Regions from separate parts of the Homo sapiens genome. Here all the other regions are linked to region 2. Evidence: promoter capture Hi-C in 16 types of primary human blood cells and fetal thymus (Javierre and others, 2016). All regions are on one chromosome and are shown on one strand. Each heading gives the region's core, a stretch centred on a gene start or on the middle of the fragment in contact. The rest is flanking DNA. Distances are from core to core; before and after follow the strand shown.

Region 1 (2,768 bases), core at 191-2,690, 240 kb after region 2:
CTGGCCAAGGATGAACATCTAAAATCAGAAAATAACACAACAGAGGCCGGGGCGTGGCAGCTCACACCTGTAATCCCAGCACTTTGGGAGGCCAAGACAGGTGGATCACCTGAGGTCAGGAGTTCGAGAGCAGCCTGGCCAACGCGGAGAATCCCCATCTCTACTAAAAATACAAAAATTGGCTGGGCGTGGTGGCACACACCTGTAATCCTAGCTACTCAGAAGGCTGGGGCAGGATAATTGCTTGAACCTGGGAGGCAGGGGCTCTAGTGAGCCGAGGTCTGCACTCCAGCCTGGGTAACAGAGTGAGACCCTATCTCAAAAAAAATAAAAAATAAAAAAGATATCTATCTTTAAGTTCTAGTCCTCCCCCAAACGGATACATCAAGGTTAATTTTTTTTTTTAACTAAAAGAATCTCCAAACGAGTTCTCTATTACTTTAAATTAGAAGGGAAACATGTACTTAAATAAGTACAAACTTATTTAAGTTTGAACTCTATGACTTCATCAAAAACTAAATAAAAGCTTTATGTTTAAGTTTTATTTAATGCTGTTTATTGAAAAACCATTTTAAGAGGAGACTGCTAAAAGGCAGATTTTTTTTTTTTTTTTGAGATACGGTCTCACTCCCATCATCCAAGCTGGAATGCAGTGGTGCAATCATAGCTCACTGCAGTCTTGACCTCCTGGGCTCAAGTGATCCTCCTATCTCAGCCTCCTGAGTAGCTGGGACGAGAAGTGCATGACACCATGCCTGGCTAATTTTTGTATTTTTAGTAGACATGGGATTTCAACATGTTGGCCAGGCTGATCTCGAACTCCTGAGCTCAAGCGATCTGCCCGCCTCAGCCTCCCAAAGTGCTGGGATTACATGCCCCACCAAAAAGGCAAAATTTAATTACCTAGGAATGATTAGAAAAGCTCCATGAATCTCTATGAAAAAGTGTTAAATAATACCAATTCTGAAATGTGCATAAAATGGATTAACTGATTATAATACAGGTTGAAAATTTGTTTTAAAAAACTATACCCATATACGTAAAGGTATGTATTATATAGATCGTATATACATATGTACAAAACGCTAGGGGGTAACTCCAAAATGTTAGGTGAGGGTATTTTAAGTAATTTCTACTTTCTTCTTTATATTTTATATTTTCCAAATCCCCTACAATAAAAATGTATCATTTTTCAATCTGCAAAAGCAGTAAAAAAGTTGTTTAGGAAAAAAAAATTCAAGCCAGATACAGTGGTGCATGCCTGTAATCTCATCTACTCAAGAGGCTGAGGTGGGAGAATTGCTTGAGCCCAGGAGTTTGAGGTTGCAATGCTCTATAATGGCATTGTGAATAGCCACCAAACTCTAGCCTGGGCAACATGGTGAAACCTCATCTCTTAAGAAAAACAATGCAATCCTTCCCTGCTACATTTTTAATTTTCCCAATTACCTTGGACTGTTCTGCCCTTGAAAAGTGATAGAAATACAAGTTGAACTCTTTGGCACATTCTGGTTTCAGTTCATACATGCCTCGTCCTGTTAATCCAGGTTTCCTGTGAAAGAAAGGACCTTAGAATATTATTACCAAAGCCATACACTAATTTATGAGAGATAGTCTTGGATATTAGAACAAGAAAGCAGAGCTCTCATATACTGCTGGTGGGTGTTAAGCTACAACTATTTTCAGTGGGTTGATTTGGCAGTCTAAATCCGAGTTCTACATGCATCTGTTTTATTTAGCATGCCCACTTGGAATTTATCCTAACTAGACAAGTGAACGTGATGGACACTGCAGTGGCAACAATTAAAAAGTCTAATAACGTGAAATAACAAATTACAACATCTCCAAACAACTGAACACCATTAACAGTGATAATTTCTCTATTTTCACATGTAAAGACTTCCGTGTTGTTCTATTAAGCAGAAAAAAGCAGGTACACTATTGGGGTTTAGAGAACTTTCCTAAGCAAGTTATAAAACCCAGAAGCCAATTGAGACAGAGTTTTAAAAACAGAAAGTTAAAAAACAAGGGAGACTGGAAGAAAGTACTGTGATGTATTAAATAAGAATTGACATTTCTAATATATAATACTTTCGGAACAATAAGATAGGGACAAACAACCATAAAGAAAAATGCATTAAAGTATGAAAAAATAAACGGCCAATAAACACATGAAAAGAAGCTCAACTTCACTTAGAGTAACGCAAATTAAAATAAGGTACTAAAAGACTGCTCATATTAAAGTGTTGACAAAGTTGCAGGGCACTCTTTATACACTTCTAGTCAGAGTGTAAATCGAGGACTTTTTTGGGAAGGCAATTAGGAGGTATGTACCAAAATGTAATACAAGCTTTCATTTTGATCTAGCTAATCCTCAAAGAAACACTTTCACAGTCAAAGATACATTTGTTAATGCTGTATGTACAAGGATTTTCAATATTTGTTTATAAGAGAAAATCTGGAAGCTATGTATTATAGGGAAGAGGTTAGATACATTACAGTACATGACTACAAGGAAGTGAAAAAGGGCCTGGCACCATAGCTCATGCCAGTAATCTCAGCACTTTGAGAGGCCGAGGCGGGCTGGATCATCTGAAGTTAGGAGTTTGAGACCAGCCTGGTCAACATGGTGAAACCCCATGTCTACTAAAAATACAAAAATTAGCCAGGTGTGGTGGCGGGCGCCTGTAATCCCAGCTACTTGGGAGGCTGAGGCAGGAGAATTGCTTGGACCTAGGAGGCGGAGGTTGCAGTGAGCCAAGACCGTG
Region 2 (2,894 bases), core at 269-2,768:
CATCTCACTGCAACCTCCCTGCCTCCTAGGTTCAAGCAATTCTTCTGCCTCAGCCTCCCAAGTAGGTGGGATTACAGGTGCGCACCACTATGCCTGGCTAATTTTTTTGTATTTTTAGTAGAGATGGGGTTTCGCCATGTTGGCCAGGCTGGTCTCAAACTCCTGATCTCAGGTGACCTGCCCACCTCAGCCTCCCAAAGTGCTGGGATTACAGGTGTGAGCCACCACGCCTGGCCATTAAGCTTTGATTCTTTGATTAAGGTGATGTTCACCAGATCAGTCTAGCTTTTGATACTTTTTTTTTTTTTTTTTGAGACAGAGTTTTGCTGTGTCACCGAGGGTAGAGTGCAGTGCTGCAATCTCAGCTCACTGCAACTTCTGCCTCCCAGGTTCAAGCGATTCTCCTGCCTCAGCCTCCTGAGTAGCTGGGATTACAGGTGCATGCCACCACACCCAGCTAATTTTTGTATTTTTAGTAGAGACGGGGGTTGCCCCATGTTGGTCAGGCTGGTCTCAAACTCCTGACCTTGAGATCCACCTGCCTCCACCTCCCAAAGTGCTGGGATTACAAGTGTGAGCCACCGTGCCCGGCCACTTTTGATAATTTAAAAACCTGACTTTCCGAGCAGTCAGAGCAGCTGTAGCACATCTGACCTGCTTTCACCTTCGATCTTCTCTGGGACCACCAAGAATTGAAGGATGGCAGGAAGTGTGAAGAAAGTGGTGAGGCTCTGGCTGGGTGCGGTGGCTCACACCTGTAATCCCCGCACTTTGGAAAGCTGAGGCGGGTGCATCACTTAAGGTCAGGAGTTCGAGACTAGCCTAGCCAACATGGTGAAACCCTGTTTCTACTAAAAATACAAAAATTAGCTGGGCTTGGTGGCATACACCAGCTACTAGGGAGGCTGAGGCACTAGGGACCCTGTGGATCGCTTGAACCAGGAGGCGGAGGTTGCAGTGCGCTGAGATCGCATCGCTGCACTCCGGCCTGGGCAACAGAGTGAGACTCCGTCTAAAACAACACAAAACAATAATAACAACTAAGAGAGTAGCGTGGCTTGGTGGCGGTGTCACTCCTGAGGCCTCTGGGAACAACTCTACAGTTATGCTTTGTCCCGTGCTGCGGAGCCTAGTATGGGGATTATCCCCCGCCATGCGTTGTATCTGAATCCTTGTACGCGCGCCCGGGGGTGTGCATGAAAATGGGCATGTGCGCGGTGCTTATGTATGTATGGGTCTTTTTGCCCGCAGCGGCGCGTCCGCAGGCTTGTTCTGTCCTGTGCTAGCCTTCAAGTTTTGGCACGTCCGTCCGTTTTTCTTCTTTGGCGCGTCCGTTGGGCACTCTGGGTTTGGCTAAATCGTGGACGCTTCTAAAGCGTTTCTGCAGGGAGCTGGTCAGAGTTGTCAAGTGCTCCCCCAGTTCTGGGCCGGCTTGGTACGGTCTACAGCCTCCCTTTCCTTTCCCCACCTCCCCCATGGTGGTTGCACCCATTCGGCCCGGAAGTGCTCGCTTCTCTGCATTACACGCCGGTCAGGATTCGCGACCCGACATGGAGCGTCCCCGCAGTCCCCAATGCTCGGCCCCGGCCTCTGCCTCAGCTTCGGTTACCCTGGCGCAGCTCCTGCAGCTGGTCCAGCAGGGCCAGGAACTCCCGGGCCTGGAGAAACGCCACATCGCGGCGATCCACGGCGAACCCACAGCGTCCCGGCTGCCGCGGAGGCCCAAGCCCTGGGAGGCCGCGGCTTTGGCTGAGTCCCTTCCCCCTCCGACCCTCAGGATAGGAACGGCCCCGGCGGAGCCTGGCTTGGTTGAGGCAGCGACTGCGCCTTCTTCATGGCATACAGTGGGCCCCTGAGGTTCCAGGTCCTTTGCGGCGGCGATCTGGAGGGCGTGGCTACAGGACCCGGGATGCCATTCAGTTACTCATCTTTTATGCTTTCGTCCTGACCTGTCTCAACTAGACTTGCTCCTGCAACCACCATGGGGGTTTTGCATTTACATTTGTGGACCATGTTACAGTTAAGAAAAATCCTGTTTCAGTCCTTATATGTAATAAAATGTTTTATGATGTAACTTGGCCCCAGAATGATTTTGAAGATACATTAAAGGAAAGCCCAAAGCATTTAAAAAAGCCAACCAAGAAAGACTAAAATCTTGGCTCTTGGAATCAGCTGGATCAGGCAAGGGGCTAGAGAATTAGAGCATTAGAAAGGCTCCCACAGCCACCCTGAAATCAGTCCTTTTATGTTAAGCAGGCCACCTGGCTCAGTGCCTACATACTCAACACTAGATTTTACTTTCTCTACAAAAGCTAGAATGTACCTGGTACGTGCTGACATGACCCTAACCCACAGACGATGTAACAGGTCTACCTTTTCTCAGAAAGGATTGTCTCACAACTTGTTCAACGAATTAGTTATGTCATGGTACATACATATAAGTGCGCAATTTTTGTAACATCTTTTATTTGTATACAATTATAAATTACAAACTTGTTTTATTAGGTTTTTTAAAATTTATTTTTCGTCAACTTAGTCCCTTTTATTTACCAGCAGTTTGCTCTGACAGAATAAATTACAAACTATTGTTTTGTTTAATCCCTTTAACCATCATGTCAGGCACACAGGTTGGAGAATATTAGCTCCCATTTTATGGACAGAGTGGAAACACTGTACCCATATTTAGTGTAAGACAGAGCTGGGATATAAGCCTTGGGCTTCCATAGTCACAACTGCTTTTTTGCATAACTTTGTAATACATCATTTTAAAGTAATCTGATTTCACAATGTTTTACAGTATAGGAGTAACATCTATAGCATCTCTTCTTGGCAGGTTACCTCTGGAGAGAACCAATCTAATTACCTCATACGCTGGCACTTTTTTTTTTTTTTTT
Region 3 (2,700 bases), core at 9-2,508, 260 kb before region 2:
TTCATGGGGAAGGAGGTAGGGGTGTGGTGTCAGGTGGCCAGGTCACTTGTCCTGTCTGGGTCTTAGTAAATTCACATGTAATAAGAGGGGGCCAGCCTGAAGGGCACAGAGCTGCTTCCCCAGAGAGATTGGGGGCAGCCAGGGTCCCATTCACCTGATTCATCTGCCAGCCATGCCTTTCTGCTCTGCCTCCAGAGTCTGTGACCTGGGACAGCCTAGCAGGCAAGGAATGGTCCCCTGGGAGAAAGGGCAGAGCCTTCTGCCTACCCTGCCCTGAGCTCTGATTTGGTTTATGAGGTCACTTCACTGCCAGCTTGGAAGCAGACTCTCCAGTCACATGGAAGGAAGTAGATCCATTTCAGAGGGGAGAGGAGGCAGCTGTGGGCAAGAAGAACCTGAGGGAAGGAAGAAGGGGCCGGGCCACAGCAAGCCCCAGGCACTGGAAAGGTATGGACTGAGGTGGCAGGGGGTAGCAGGCAAGCTTTCCCTTCTTCACTGTTTCAACCAAGGTCTGCTCTACCACAGGGGCCCCAGCCAGGGCTCTGTGCCCAGAACAACCTCTGCGCAAAAGGCAGGAGGAAAACTGGAATGAAAGGCTGGGCAGCTACAGCCCAAGGGAGAGGACAAGATGCAAACCACAGAGGGGGAAACCCAGGCAGCCCATTCACAGAAGAGTCTTCTCCACTCAGAGCTGAAGAAACACGCTCAGGCCCACAGCTAGCCCAGCAGGCCCCTGCACTAGGACTGCTTGCTGCTTCTCCAGCTCAGAGCTCATTGCAGGTGGGCAGGCGTCCTGCTCCAATGCAAGCTCCTGCCCAGAGGCAAGGTCCGAGGGTAGCTCTTCTCCGTGAAGCCAGCATGGCAATGCAAAGCCACTTCCAGGCTACATGACCTGGGACAGGTCAGACAACCTCCTAAGCCTCAATGTCTTCATCCACAAAATGGGGATAGTAGTATATATTTCAGACGACTACCGTGATAATTACAGTAACACATGTGAAGTTCTTACCATAGGGCCTGGCCCATAGAGAGCCCTCAATAAATGGTGCCTCTGTTGCTCCTGGCCCACCCCTGGGCACCCTCTCCCTCCCTCCTTCACTCCCTGTCCTCACCTTCTGCTTGGTGCTGAGGGGCTGTGACTTCAATTTTTCATCCTTGCTCTTGGAAATCCTCAGGAACTGCTTGAGGTCTCCCTAAGGGAAAAGCCAGGCATCTCGCTCAGGTCAGTGCACAGCCATTGGCTGTAAAGCCTCAGACCAAGCAGGTGCTCGCAGAATTCCTGCCTGGGGAGGCAGTGAGAAGGCCTAAGCTAGCCTGGGCCCCTTTCCCAGGGGGAAGTTCACTGGGAGTGCAGAACTTTAAAAATATATAGGAGACGCCTCCTAGAGGCTGTCTCAGTTAGAAAGGAGGAGAATTGGCATTTCTACCCCAAGGGGAACCTCCAGACAGGTGGGGCAACAGAGCCCCCATCTTCAGTGAGCCAAGAGGAAAACAGTCCCCTACCCTCTGCCCTCAAAGATTCCTGAGAGGAAACCCCTGTCCTCCAGAGCTTTACAATCTAATCTAAACAAACAAAGGAGAACGCCAGCAGCAGAAACATACATAAAGCATTCATAAGTACTTGTTTGTTTGTTTTTAATTTTTTTGTAGAGACAGAGTCTTGCTATGTTGCCCAGGCTGGTCTCGGACTCCTGGCCTCAGGCGATCCTCCTGCCTCAGTCTCCCAAAGTGCTGGGATTACAAGTGTGAGCCACTGTGCCCAGCCGCGTAAGTACTTGTTAATGGAAAGACTGATAGGACTCCTGCCCGCTCTTGCCCCAGAACTAGGGATTTGAGAAGCAGCAGTTTGAGGACCATGGGGTGAGGGCAAGGACCAGCTGGGGAATGAAGAGGAAGGCGCAGCTCTGGGAATGACACCCTGAGTGGAGAGGAGAAGGCTGGTGGCTGGGGTAACACTCATGTCACAAGTGGTGCTAGGAAGGAGGGAGGCAAAGTGGGTTCTGATATATTTATTCTCAAGTGGGGACAAGCTTTTGGGGAGGAAAAAATAACAAACCAAAGAAAACAAGAGTCAGAGAAGATGACCTGGAAGGCATCCCTGCAGTGTGACAGTGAGAAGTCCCAGAAAAACTTAGGACCAACGCCCCTGAGATACAGATGGAAAGACTGGGTGCTGATAAAGGGAAAGCAGGCATCCAAGAGCAGGGAAGGCAGAAGCTGAGCATCATAAGGTGGGCAAAGTGTAACAGCAGGCAGGTGAGGTCTCGGCTGAGACTGCACGAGACAAGGTTTTCACGGTGCTCCAACCACTGACTCCCACCTTTGTAGGACACTGCCCTCCCTACCCGAGACCCCCACGTCCCCTGCCAACAGCATACCAGATCCACATATTCCAGCACCATGTAGTGGGGCTCAGCCTCCCGGCACAGCCCCAGGAGCCGCACCACGTTGGCGTGGTTCAGCTTCCCAAACATCTCCAACTCCCTCCGGAAGTCCAGCTGCTGCTGCTCATCCTTGCTCTGCAGGCTCTTCACAAGTACCAGGGTCTCTGCCACTCCCTCCTCCAAGCCCTGAGCCTTTGCCAGGAACACCTCCCCAAACTCACTCTTCCCTGTGGGTACAGTCTGAGTCAGCCAGCCACCTTCACCCAGGCCGAGGCAGCTCCTGACCTGGGGGAGGGGCCTAGCCTCTCCCACAGTG

What was found. Contacts are between HindIII fragments. The CHiCAGO score rates a contact against its expected background, and 5 or more counts as called.
Region 1: a contact is called between a fragment that was not itself captured here and the fragment with the promoter of PEX39 in region 2, in 10 of 17 cell types (naive CD8 T cells, naive CD4 T cells, total CD4 T cells and 7 more). The highest score is 8.9, in naive CD8 T cells.
Region 3: a fragment that was not itself captured here is called in contact with the fragment with the promoter of PEX39 in region 2 in 2 of 17 cell types (naive CD8 T cells and total CD4 T cells); the score reaches 7.6 in naive CD8 T cells.

Annotation. Positions count from the first base shown.
Region 1 is chr6:42,649,068-42,651,835 of GRCh38, reverse strand. It overlaps UBR2 (ubiquitin protein ligase E3 component n-recognin 2), which reads right to left. Exons shown (of 47, transcript NM_001363705.2): 23 at 1,450-1,552. Among named protein-coding and RNA genes, the nearest start is that of PRPH2, 72 kb to the left of the region's middle. The HindIII fragment of the contact is 1,824 bases long and covers 529-2,352 here.
Region 2 is chr6:42,889,445-42,892,338 of GRCh38, reverse strand. It overlaps PEX39 (peroxisomal biogenesis factor 39), which reads left to right and starts at 1,518. Exons shown (of 1, transcript NM_001008739.2): 1 at 1,518-2,074. The coding sequence starts at 1,551. The coding sequence ends at 1,856. RPL7L1 (ribosomal protein L7 like 1) reads right to left here. Exons shown (of 6, transcript NM_001366481.3): 6 at 2,439-2,894. RefSeq lists enhancers at 1,067-1,116, 1,177-2,026. The HindIII fragment of the contact is 5,960 bases long and covers 245-2,894 here.
Region 3 is chr6:43,145,111-43,147,810 of GRCh38, reverse strand. PTK7 (protein tyrosine kinase 7 (inactive)) reads right to left here. Exons shown (of 20, transcript NM_002821.5): 16 at 2,379-2,611; 17 at 1,113-1,193. Among named protein-coding and RNA genes, the nearest start is that of SRF, 25 kb to the left of the region's middle. The HindIII fragment of the contact is 1,549 bases long and covers 484-2,032 here.